Linked DNA regions of Homo sapiens: regions 1, 2 and 3 are each linked to region 4. The links are contacts of gene promoters, found by promoter capture Hi-C in blood cells and fetal thymus (Javierre and others, 2016). All regions are on one chromosome and are shown on one strand. Each heading gives the region's core, a stretch centred on a gene start or on the middle of the fragment in contact. The rest is flanking DNA. Distances are from core to core; before and after follow the strand shown. Region 1 overlaps LINC01134 (long intergenic non-protein coding RNA 1134). Region 2 overlaps ARHGEF16 (Rho guanine nucleotide exchange factor 16). Region 3 has its middle 4.9 kb from the start of ARHGEF16. Region 4 holds the start of WRAP73 (WD repeat containing, antisense to TP73).

Evidence for each region. Contacts are between HindIII fragments. The CHiCAGO score rates a contact against its expected background, and 5 or more counts as called.
Region 1: a fragment that was not itself captured here is called in contact with the fragment with the promoter of WRAP73 in region 4 in 1 of 17 cell types (neutrophils); the score reaches 11.8 in neutrophils.
Region 2: a fragment that was not itself captured here is called in contact with the fragment with the promoter of WRAP73 in region 4 in 1 of 17 cell types (neutrophils); the score reaches 5.0 in neutrophils.
Region 3: a fragment that was not itself captured here is called in contact with the fragment with the promoter of WRAP73 in region 4 in 6 of 17 cell types (naive CD4 T cells, non-activated CD4 T cells, naive CD8 T cells and 3 more); the score reaches 7.8 in naive CD4 T cells.

The regions. Positions count from the first base shown.
Region 1 is chr1:3,902,862-3,905,561 of GRCh38, reverse strand. LINC01134 (long intergenic non-protein coding RNA 1134) reads right to left here. Exons shown (of 4, transcript NR_024455.1): 2 at 1,526-1,597. Among named protein-coding and RNA genes, the nearest start is that of LINC01134, 3.8 kb to the right of the region's middle. The HindIII fragment of the contact is 1,984 bases long and covers 459-2,442 here.
Region 2 is chr1:3,475,162-3,477,861 of GRCh38, reverse strand. It overlaps ARHGEF16 (Rho guanine nucleotide exchange factor 16), which reads right to left. Exons shown (of 15, transcript NM_014448.4): 10 at 1,800-1,892. Among named protein-coding and RNA genes, the nearest start is that of ARHGEF16, 22 kb to the right of the region's middle. The HindIII fragment of the contact is 4,576 bases long and covers 1-2,700 here.
Region 3 is chr1:3,448,404-3,451,103 of GRCh38, reverse strand. No RefSeq gene overlaps it. Among named protein-coding and RNA genes, the nearest start is that of ARHGEF16, 4.9 kb to the left of the region's middle. The HindIII fragment of the contact is 5,295 bases long and covers 1-2,700 here.
Region 4 is chr1:3,648,665-3,651,364 of GRCh38, reverse strand. It overlaps WRAP73 (WD repeat containing, antisense to TP73), which reads left to right and starts at 1,262. Exons shown (of 12, transcript NM_017818.4): 1 at 1,262-1,434. The coding sequence starts at 1,366. RefSeq lists an enhancer at 198-1,041. The HindIII fragment of the contact is 11,564 bases long and covers 1-2,153 here.

The DNA.
Region 1 (2,700 bases), core at 201-2,700, 250 kb before region 4:
CGGCGCCAACAGTTCCTATGTACTCTACACCTGATTCTGATGCCACCAACTCCAGAAGAGACCCTCTGCCCCATGCTGGTGGCTCCCTGAAGTTTCTGGGCATCTTCCAACTGCCCCAGGGGTAGTCCTGTGAGTCTCTCAGGCACCCTAGCAGGCTCAGAGCCTACATCCTTCTCCGCTGTGTCCTTCATTCAAGGCAGGACCTTGGCACATGTGCACGGGGCAGACACGGGAGGAGCTGCGATACTTTCCAACAGCAGACGGCTGTCCTACCACAGGGTTATTTTTGCCCAGCTAAGTCGGGTGGACCGAGAGGATAGGAGAGGGTGGGCTATTAAGAAAACATTAGTTTAGGTCAATTCAAAGAGAACTTTTTTTTTTTTTTTGACAAAGTTTCACTCTGTCACCCAGGCTGGAGTGCAGTGGTGCGATGACATTTTAAAAGCATGCTGCAAGCTTTTTTTCCCCTGCCTTCTCCCTCTCTCTCTCTCTTTCTACCTATTACTTCTTTCTTTTAATTATAAAAGGCCATATGCAAGAGAGGCCCTGTCATCATACAGGCCACCATCTGTTGGCAGGAATGCAATGTGCTCTGGCCGGGGTGGCCTCAGTTAACGGGTCTACCGACTGCTAGTCAGTTGAAAAATCTCTTCAACTTTCTCACTGGCCCTACAGTGTTTGTCAAAGGCAAATACTGAACTGGGGCACAGCAGTGTTTTAAGTCAGAAATTTGTGGTATGGGCAAGAATGCAAAGTTTCCTCCAATCCACAATCCTCAAGTTCTCTGTGTGCGTCTCGCCCCCGGCCAGCCAGCCAGCCAGCCAATGTCCTCTGGGTATCACCAGCCTCCGTGAACAAAACACGGACCCTGCCTTCCAGGGGCGTACAGTTCAGGTGGGGGGCCAGCCACGTACAAGCCTGCACAGACTTCACACGCCTGCCACCATGGGGAGTCTCACTGTGCCCTGACCTGGCCGGGTGGGGGCACAGCTAATCAGGAATAAGAACAGAAGCAGACACAGCGAACCCGGGAAGCTGTGGTGTGGAGGTGGCTTCGGCCAAGCCTGGTTTTGGGGAACCCAGGAAACCGTGGTGTGGAGGTGGCTTCGGCCGAGCCTGGTTTTCTGCTCCCTCCAGGGTCTCCTGCAATTCCACATGGCAGCTTGAGGTGGAGCGGGGGAGAGAATTCAAGATTGGCTCCTCTGCCCACGCCAACACCTCCCACCTCGTCAGGAGGGGTAGCCTGTCCAGACAGGGCTCCACTGCACATCCAGCCTTGACTAGGAGGCTCTGTTTCCCCCGGGTGGGCCTGAAAGGGGCCTGCATCCTACAGGATGAGGGAGGGAGAGGGGGCCCCAGCCACTTCCTCCCAGGATCCTCACCCGACACCCCCAGCTCTGTGCTGTTGCCCATGTGGCCTCTCCCCCGTGGCTCCCATCACACTGCAAACGTACAATTCTGTGTGATGATTCCATGCCTGGGCTTGCGCCTGGCCCAGTCCCCAGAACACAGTGGAGCTTGATACCTTGAGTGAATGAGTGGATGCGCCATGCTCTGGGATAGCACCGGAGAAACGGTCCTGGCCTGCCACGGGGTCCTGGTAGAAGAGTGCAGAACACTAAAAAAGCAGCAACCGGCAGATTGAATGTAGGGGGCGGGGGAGCATCCAGGAAGGGCCCCCTGAGGACAGGAGATATAAGCTGAGTTGAGGTTTAACAAATGGATTAGCCAGGCAAAACGTGGGTTGGGGAGCTGGGGAAAGAAGGTTTTCAGGCACAGGGAAGTGGGGAAGAGGCTTTGCAGTGGTCAGGAGCTGAGGGAGGCACTGTGGATAGCAGAGGGGCAGGGGAACAGGTGCTGGGACTCTGTGCGGCTGGAGCAGGGAGCGGCAACGGTGAGCAAGCTCAGAAGCCCTTCCGCACATTCATTGGACAAACACCTGCTGGGCACCCACAGTGTGCCAGGCACCATGCCAGGACTTACAGGCCACTCTAAGACTGTGGCTCTGGATCCCAGAAGCAGGGGATCACCCCAACAGCTGTGGGCTGCCCAGGCCAGAGGAAAAGGAGAGACCAGCCGTGAGGCTTCAAAGTCTAGAATTAACAGCAACCGGCATCTGACAGGATGTGGGCAGGGAGAGAGAGACATTCACCAATGGCCTGGGTGTCAGGCCTTACAGCTGGGAGGCTGGAAACCATGCTCATCCCAGACCTGGGGAGAGGACAGACAACATTGGTGAAGGGAAGGAGAGTGCCCTTTGGGATGTTAAAAGTCCACATGGCTCGGAGCCCAGAGCCCCCATCGGGCGGGCGAGGCCAGGCAGTGAGGCATTTACATCAACTGGCACCAACCACAAACAAGACAGGCAAACACCAGCCAAGCCCCAGTGGATGAAAACTTTGAGCTCCCAAGGACTGGGAAATAAAACCACTGAACCAAGCTTATTATGAAATCAATCTCTGCGAAAATGGGACAGGCTAGGTGTTTAACAAAGTATCGCTCGCTCTCATTTTTTTCTGAACAGCTGGCAGCGATTATATTAAGTTTCCATTTCAAACGCATTTCCTGCCAGTTACACATTTGTCTCCTCCCCTTCTGTACAACATGGATAATAACACGGGAGAAGCGCAGGGCTAGGAAGAGAGAGGGTACAACAGCCAGGTAGGACATGTGTGTGTGTGTGTACACCAGGGCTGCAAG
Region 2 (2,700 bases), core at 3-2,502, 170 kb after region 4:
GCCGGGAGGCGGAGATCAGTGCGAGGGACTGGGGGGGACAGAGCCGGGGTGAGCAGGTCCCCAGGGGGTCAAGGACGCATAGCACCAGGTGGGACTGACTCCTGCCTCTGGACTGGGTGACCAGCTGGCTGCCCTCAGTCGGGGCTGGACAGAGGAAAGGGGCACAATGTGTCCGGGCCTCAAATCGAGGTGCGCCAGGCCGGACCAGACCCTGCCCGATAGCCCAGGGCTGGGTGACCACTGAACATTTCACCCAAGCCAGGACTCGAAGGCCAGTGCTGGGGAAGCCTCCACACACACCTCACCCCTCCGTGGCAATTACGCAGACGCTGGGCCTCCTAGGCACAAGGACCTGCTCAGCCCCGAGGGAGGGTTGGCAGGGGCAGGCCCACCCGTGATGGCCACGCTCCACGTCTGGGGCCTTTCCTGGCTCCTGAGCCACAGAACATCCTCCCTGCTGCCTGGTGCTGAGTTGCTGGAGTCAGTGGGGGGCAGAAGGATGGCAAAGGCCAGAGGGTGGGCAGTGTGGGGGTGATGGGGTGGGTAGTGTGGGGGTGACGGGGATGGGTGTCGCAGTAGGGGGTGGCAGTACAGGGTGGGGGGGAGGGCAGAGTGGGAATGAGGAGCCTGCCCACCAGCTCCCGCTCCTCAGCGACTGTTGACACCTCCTCACCTGCTCCCTGTGGGCCCCGGCTTCCCCACCTGTGCCCACTACAGACTCAGAGCCCCCGGCACCTCCCGCTCCCGGCCTCTGCCACCACCCTCCCTCCTGGATGGGCCTGTTCTCCCCACCCCCACACCCGTTTCCAAGACCAACTTCAAGACCATGTGGGGGTGAGAGCCCCACTCAGGGGTGGACCAGGCCTGGGAGGGGGTCCTTGCTCTGGCAGGGGCAGGCGTTACACCCCAGACTCGAGAGGATCAGGGAGACAAGCGTGAGGGCTGCACGGGTGTGGGCTCAGCGACAGCGGCGCGAAGTCACCGCCCTGACGCCTGCCCCAGGCAGCCCGCCCTGACCCACCCCGGGAGCCCCCTCCCCCAGCTGGGACCCCGCACCCTTACTTGGTTGTCCGTGGCCCTGAGTGAGGGTGGCTGGTGGCCTGTCACCCACTTCTTGCTCCACCCTGAAGGACACCCCCTGGATGGGGCACCAGGACAGGAGACCCACCTGGGCCCGCCTTAGGGGAGGGGCCCTGGGCTGTCCCAGGACAACAGAGGATGCGGCCAGTGTGTGGGATCGTGGGTGGGGGGCTCTGGAGGGAGAGGTATGAGCCCTGCCCGTTTGTGGCAGGGACTAGGGCTGCCCGGGCCTGGGCTGGAAATATTTCACCCTACCCAGAATCCAAGCCTCACTGGGAAACATGGAATCTGGGCTGGCCCTGAAATCACCCTGTCCCCTCCGCTCTGTCCTCAGGCCCTGCCCAGCCCCTGAGGGGCCAGCAAGGAGCGCTGGCCCCAGGCAAGTGCACTGACAGGGCCACTCCTGTTGCCCCCTGGGCTTGGTCACTCAGGGCCTAGGGTCTACCCTTTGCCGGTGCAGTCCTGGGGATGGGGCAAGGGCCACAGAGGCCCACCCAGTGGGATTAGGGGAGGGGTCCACAAGGGGCGCTCCCAGATCGGGAGACTGAGGCCTGGAGAGACCAGAGCCACCAGCCCTAGGAGGCCCAGCCCCCAGGCCTCATGAGGGCAGGCACCCACTCTCCAGCCCTCAGGCTCAGGGGTGTGACCTCACACGCAGGCCAGCAGGGAGGGCTGAGTGGGAAGTGGTCCGAGTGGCCCTGATGTCCGGGGCCACCTACCTTGACCTTGCTGAAGTCCAGCTGTGTGTGCAGCGTGTACATCTGCTCCATGCGCTCCATCCTGTGGGCCCCCTCGTTGCACTGCCTCACCAGCTGCAGGGCATGGTTCCCGTGTGAGAGGCTGGTGCTACAGGGCCCTGGCACAGCCCACACGGCCCACAGTGTGCCCAGGACACCTGCCCAGCCAGCCTCTGGCTGCCCACAGTGCCTGCCCTGGACCAGCCGTGCCACGGGCTCATCAACTGTGTGAGAGCTCCACTGGCTCTAGGCCTCAGTTTCCCTGTCAGCACTGTGAAAGGCTTGGGATGGATAATCTGGGAACCTCTGGGCCTCAGTTTCCCTGTCAGCGCTGTGAAAGGCCTGGGATGGATAATCTGGGAACCTCTGGGCCTCAGTTTCCCTGTCAGCGCTGTGAAAGGCCTGGGATGGATAATCTGGGAACCTCTGGGCCTCAGTTTCCCTGTCAGCGCTGTGAAAGGCCTGGGATGGATAATCTGGGAACCTCTGGGCCTCAGTTTCCCTGTCAGCGCTGTGAAAGGCCTGGGATGGATAATCTGGGAACCTCTGGGCCTCAGTTTCCCTGTCAGCGCTGTGAAAGGCCTGGGATGGATAATCTGGGAACCTCTGGGCCTCAGTTTCCCTGTCAGCGCTGTGAAAGGCCTGGGATGGATAATCTGGGAACCTCTGGGCCTCAGTTTCCCTGTCAGCGCCGTGAAAGGCCTGGGATGGATAATCTGGGAACCTCTGGGCCTCAGTTTCCCTGTCAGCGCCGTGAAAGGCCTGGGATGGATAATCTGGGAACCTCTGGGCCTCAGTTTCCCTGTCAGCGCCGTGAAAGGCCTGGGATGGATAATCTGGGAACCTCTGGGCCTCAGTTTCCCTGTCAGCGCCGTGAAAGGCC
Region 3 (2,700 bases), core at 32-2,531, 200 kb after region 4:
TGGGGAGGACGAGTCTCCAGTGAGCTATGATCGAGCCAGTGTACTCCAGCCACTGTACCAAGACTCTGTCTCAAAAAAAGAATGTCTGAAAAATTTCCAAATGTGATAAAAACTTGTAGATCCACAGATCCAAGAACCTCAAAGCAATGGAGAATAAGTCCAAAGAAGTCAAAGCAGCATACGTACAAAGCAGACCCCACCACAGTACCTCATAATGAAATGGCTGAAAACCAGGGACAGAGGGAAAAAATCCTGACCACCCAGAATATTCAGTAGATACCAAAGAAGGCCATGTCCTAGGTGAAGGGCTGAAGTAATCCTAGGGTGACAGCTCCTCTAGACATGACCTAACAGAAGTTCAAAGCAAGTCCTGAGAGGACCAGGCTGATCCACAAGTACGTTAACTGTGCATCAGCATAACACTCAACATGCTTGAAAAGAAGGCCAGTAAAATCCAGAAACTCAAACAATTTGACATTTACGACCTCCAGCACCCAATGCAAAATTACACATTTACAACCTCCAGCACCCAATGCAAAATTACACATTTACGACCTCCAGCACCCAATGCAAAATTACACATTTACGACCTCCAGCACCCAATGCAAAATTACACATTTACGACCTCCAGCACCCAATGCAAAATTACTAGACATGTGAAGAAGCAGGAACAGGAACCTGTGACAAATAACTAGGAAAAAAATCAGTCAGTAGAAGCAGACCCAGAAATGACACGGATGACAGGATTCGCAGAGAAGGCATTTAAAACAACAATCAAAAATACCCCAAAGGATCAGCTGGGCATGGTGCCGCATGCCTGTAATCCCAGCACTTGGGAAGGCTGAGATGGTGAGTTGCTTGAGTCCAGGAGTTCAAGACCAGCCTGGGCAACGTGGTGAAACCCCATCTCTACAAAAAATACAAAAAATTAGCTAGGTGAGCTACTCAGGAGACTGGGGTGGGAGGATCACTTGAGCCCAGGATTTGGAGGCTGCAGTGAGCTGAGCTCGCACCACTGCCCTCCAGCCTGGGCAACAGAGCCAGACCCTGTCTCTCTCTCTCTATACACACACACACACACACACACACACGCGGACACACACGGACACACATATACACACACACACATATATATAATATATACACACACACCACCCAAGGATTTATAGGAAACGATGATCACAGTCAAAGGAGAGATGGAAAGTATAATAATGAATCAAATGGAAATCCTAAAGATGAAAATATACAGTGTAGGAAACAAAAAATCTATTGGATGAGATTAACAGCAGATGAAACTACAGAGGAAAACAATCAGTAAACTTGAAGCCAGGACAAGTTACTCAGACTGAAGCACGCAGAGGAAAAACCTAGGGAAAAGGCAGAAACCGAGCCTTGCCCACCTTGAGACGGTATCAGGCATCAGGCAGTCTAACAATATGTGTAACTGGAGGACCAGAAAGGAGGGAGTGGGGAGGGAAGAACATATGTTTAAAGCAATGGCTGGGTACAGTGGCTCACGCCTGTAATCCCAGAACTTTGCATGACTGAGGCGGGCGGATCACTTGAGGCCAGAAGTTCGAGACAAGCCTGGGCAACATGGTGAAACCCTGTCTCTACTAAAAGTACAAAAATTAGCCAGGCATGGTGGTGCATGCCTATAGTCCCAGCTACTTGGGAGGCTGAGGTGGGAGGATTGCTTGAGCCCAGGGAGGTCGAGGCTCCAGTGAGCTGTGATTGAACCACTGTACTCCAGCCTGGGTGACAGACCAAGACTCTGTCTTATTAAAAAAAAAAAAAAAGGAAGAATGGCTGAAAATTTTTCAGATGTAATAAAAACTCATAGATCCACAGAATCAAGGACCTTAAAATGAAGTAGAATAAGTACAAAGATGTCAAGGCAGCATACGTACAAAGCAGACCACACCAAGGTACCTCATAATGAAATGGCTGAAAACCAGTGACAGAGGGAAAAATCGTAAGGGAATAAAGACCAAAATAACTGCTGGCTTGTCATCAGAAACACTGAAAGCTGAGAGAACTACAACAACATCTTTAAAGTGCTGAAAGAAAACAAAACTGTCAACCAAGATGTCCATTTCTCTTGAAAATATCCTTCAAAAATGAAAGGAAAATAAAGACATGTTAAGGCAAACGCTGAGAAAATTCATCACCAGTAGACCCACACTATAAGAAATGTCACAGGAATTTTTTCAGGCGAAAGGAAAATGATACCAGATATAAATTCAGGTCTGCACAAGGAGTAGAAACCCACTGGAAATGGCAAATATGTCAATAAATGTGAGAGGCTTTTTTTCTGTGCTTCAAAACATTCCTTTTTTTTTTTTTTTTTTAAATGGAGTCTCACTCTGTCGCCCAGACTGGAGTGTAGTGGCACGATCTCAGCTCACTGCAACCTCCACTTCTTGGGTTCAAGTGATCCTCCTGCCTCAGCCTCCCCAGTAGCTGGGACTACAAGCACACACCACCATGCCTGGCTAATTTTTGTATCTTTTTAGTAGAGATGGGGTTTCACCATTTTGGCCAGGCTGGTCTTGAACTCTTGACCTTGTGATCTGCCCGCCTTGGCCTCCCAAAGGGCTGGGATTACAGGTGTGAGCCACTGCACCCGGCCCAAAACAGTTCTTTAAAAGATCAGAGACTAATGTGAAAATAACGACAGTGTATTATCAAATTTATATG
Region 4 (2,700 bases), core at 13-2,512:
GGCTTCGCGAGCGAGCCGGGCTGGCGCAGACTGGGTTCTCTGGCCGCAGCGGGTCCGCGCCTGACGGGGAGGGTCCGGCTGACTCGCACATCTTCATGGCTCACCCACTGTTTGCTGGGCGCACGGGGTGGGGACCCAAAGACGAATCCCATGCAGAGGTTTGGGTCTAGTTTTGGCAACAGAAAAGGCCGGCACCGCCGGAGTAGGACGCGCGCGCACCACCATCCATTCGGCCGGGGAGGTTGGGGCGTCCGCGGGGAGCAGACCCGAGGCTGGGCGCCCGGAGGTACGAGCAGGACCCTGGCCGGCTCTCAGCTCCCAGAACCCAGGGCCAGGCGGGGATGTCAGGGTCTGCGCGATCTGGGGGGCCCTAGAGGCGCCGGCGGGGCCTGGCGCGGACTACTAGCGGCCTGCGGGAGCCAGGGGTGGAGGGGGCCGCTGTCTAGGGAAGAGGACCGGGGTCCGGAGTGGGGGTGAGAACGAGGCACGCCCCTGAGCCTGCGAAACCTGCGGACCGAGCGCCCGCGCAGGAGCTCGCTCCCTCTGGGCCCCCAGGTCCCAGACCCGCACGATTCTTCGCCCGGTGCCAGCCCAGATGCGCGCGGGTGATGAACGGGCGGTGGCCGCGATCCACGCGCTCGCTCTGCCCAGTCAGCGGCAAATTCGTTCTCTCCTTGATCTCAGTGGCACTGGAGCGTGAGGCAAGGGCCAGGCGGCAGGTAGAGGGGTCGGACTCAGCAAAAGCAAACAAAACCCCAAGCAAACGAAATAAATACTTATACATTACATACACGATATAATATATGTGCGACAGACACCGTATTACTTATTAAAGATATATTTGTAGGTAAACATATATTTACATGTAAACATACATTTACATATAAATATAAATATATATATATGCATGTGTACACACACGCAGACACACAGGTCGCTCAATTAAATTTGAATTTCAGACTAGCGAGTAATTTTTCCGTATTAGCATGTCCCGTGCAATATTTGGGAACATACTTATAACTAGATTTGTTGTGAATCTGAAATTCAAATTTTACTGTGCTTTCTACATTTTTATCAGCAGCCCTAGCTGGAGGTGCTCAAAGGCCTCCCGGCCTTTGAGGTAAGGTTCTCGGGTCGGAAATCCCTGGTCGGAAGAAACGTGGGCGTTTCCTTTAAAGCCCTGCGGCACAAGAACTACAAGCCCCACAATGCCGCGCGGAAGCCGGCGGCGCTGATAGGCTGCAGTTCACTTCCGCCTTCTGACTTCCGGCCTCGGAGGCCGGCGTCGGCTGTTGCAGCCTGCTGCGCGCCCAGGGGTCCCGCGGGTTTTCGGGCGCAGGGTGGCGCCCGCGGCAGGCGGCGGCCATGAACTTCTCCGAGGTATTCAAGCTCTCCAGCTTACTCTGCAAGTTCTCCCCGGACGGCAAGTACCTGGTGAGCGGCGGGGACCTGGGCCACGGGCAGGACATCCTCGGTGCCAGCGTCCCCGGCGGGCAGGGCCGGGGGCGGCCGCGTGGGTGGAGGCAGCTTGGGGATCCTGCAGGTGCGGTGCCCGGACAGGTGCGGGGCCCGGGCAGGTACCCGGGGCAGGTGCAGTGTCTGAGCAAGTGCCCCAGACAGGTGCGGGACCCAGGAAGATACCCTAGACAGGTGGAGGGCCCGGGGAGGTGCCCCAAGCAGGTGCGGGGCCCAGGCAGGTACCCCAAGCAGGTGCGGGGCCCAGGCAGGTACCCCAAGCAGATATGGGGGCCGGACAGGTGCAGGACCCCGGCAGGTGCCCGGGCAGGTGCGGGACCCAGGAAGATACCGTAGACAGGTGGGGGGTCTGGGGAGGTGCCCTTGGAAAGGTGGGTATCGGCAGTGCCGACTGCACACAGGTGAGGGTATAGGAGATGTCGGCTCTTTGTTGTTACTTTGTCACAAAAGGCAAATTGATGATTCTGTTGCCTGTAAACTGGTAAGTGGTGTGGCTACTTTGTCATCTCTACTTCTCCTCTAATTCTCTTCTCCTCTACCACATGCCGAATAAATGATTTAAATACTAGTATTCTATCCCCAGGTAAGGAAGTAGTTGTCCTCATGGCTGGGATTTGAGGTCTTCGTTCCATGGGTGGCAGAAGGGTGCTTAAATCACAGAGCTATAACTTTAAGCTTCAAAACATATAGTGTATGTACCTGGATGCCTAGTAGTGTATATCCTCAGAAGAGAGGGATAACCCGGATGCCTAGTATGTATGTCCTCAGAAGAGGGGGACAATTGGCATTGGAAAGCCACTAAGAAGAAACATGCCTCGTAAAAAGTGGGCTTCGTTTTCCTTATCCACCACCTGTACTAACTGACTGATGTATCATGATGCTTTTTCAGGTTTTGCCACTCCTGACATTCCTGTGCTCTGTCTAGCTTTTGAGAGTTTAACTCTCAAATTACGTTTTTTACCTCTTCAGGGAGGTTTTATTCCAAATCACATAAAATAGCATCAGCTACAAAACAGAAAACCTCATTAGTTTAAATGGCATCTCAGCCTTGGTATATTTTCAATGTGCCCCCCTCCTCAATTAAATGAGAGGTTTGTTTTTTGTTTTTACCATTTATGAAAATTTCAGTGAATTATAAGGAGAAAGATTACATCTGCTTGCTTAACTTGGGTGTTTTTTTCCAGCTTGTACACTCTGGTCAAAATACCCTGAAACACTTGGTAA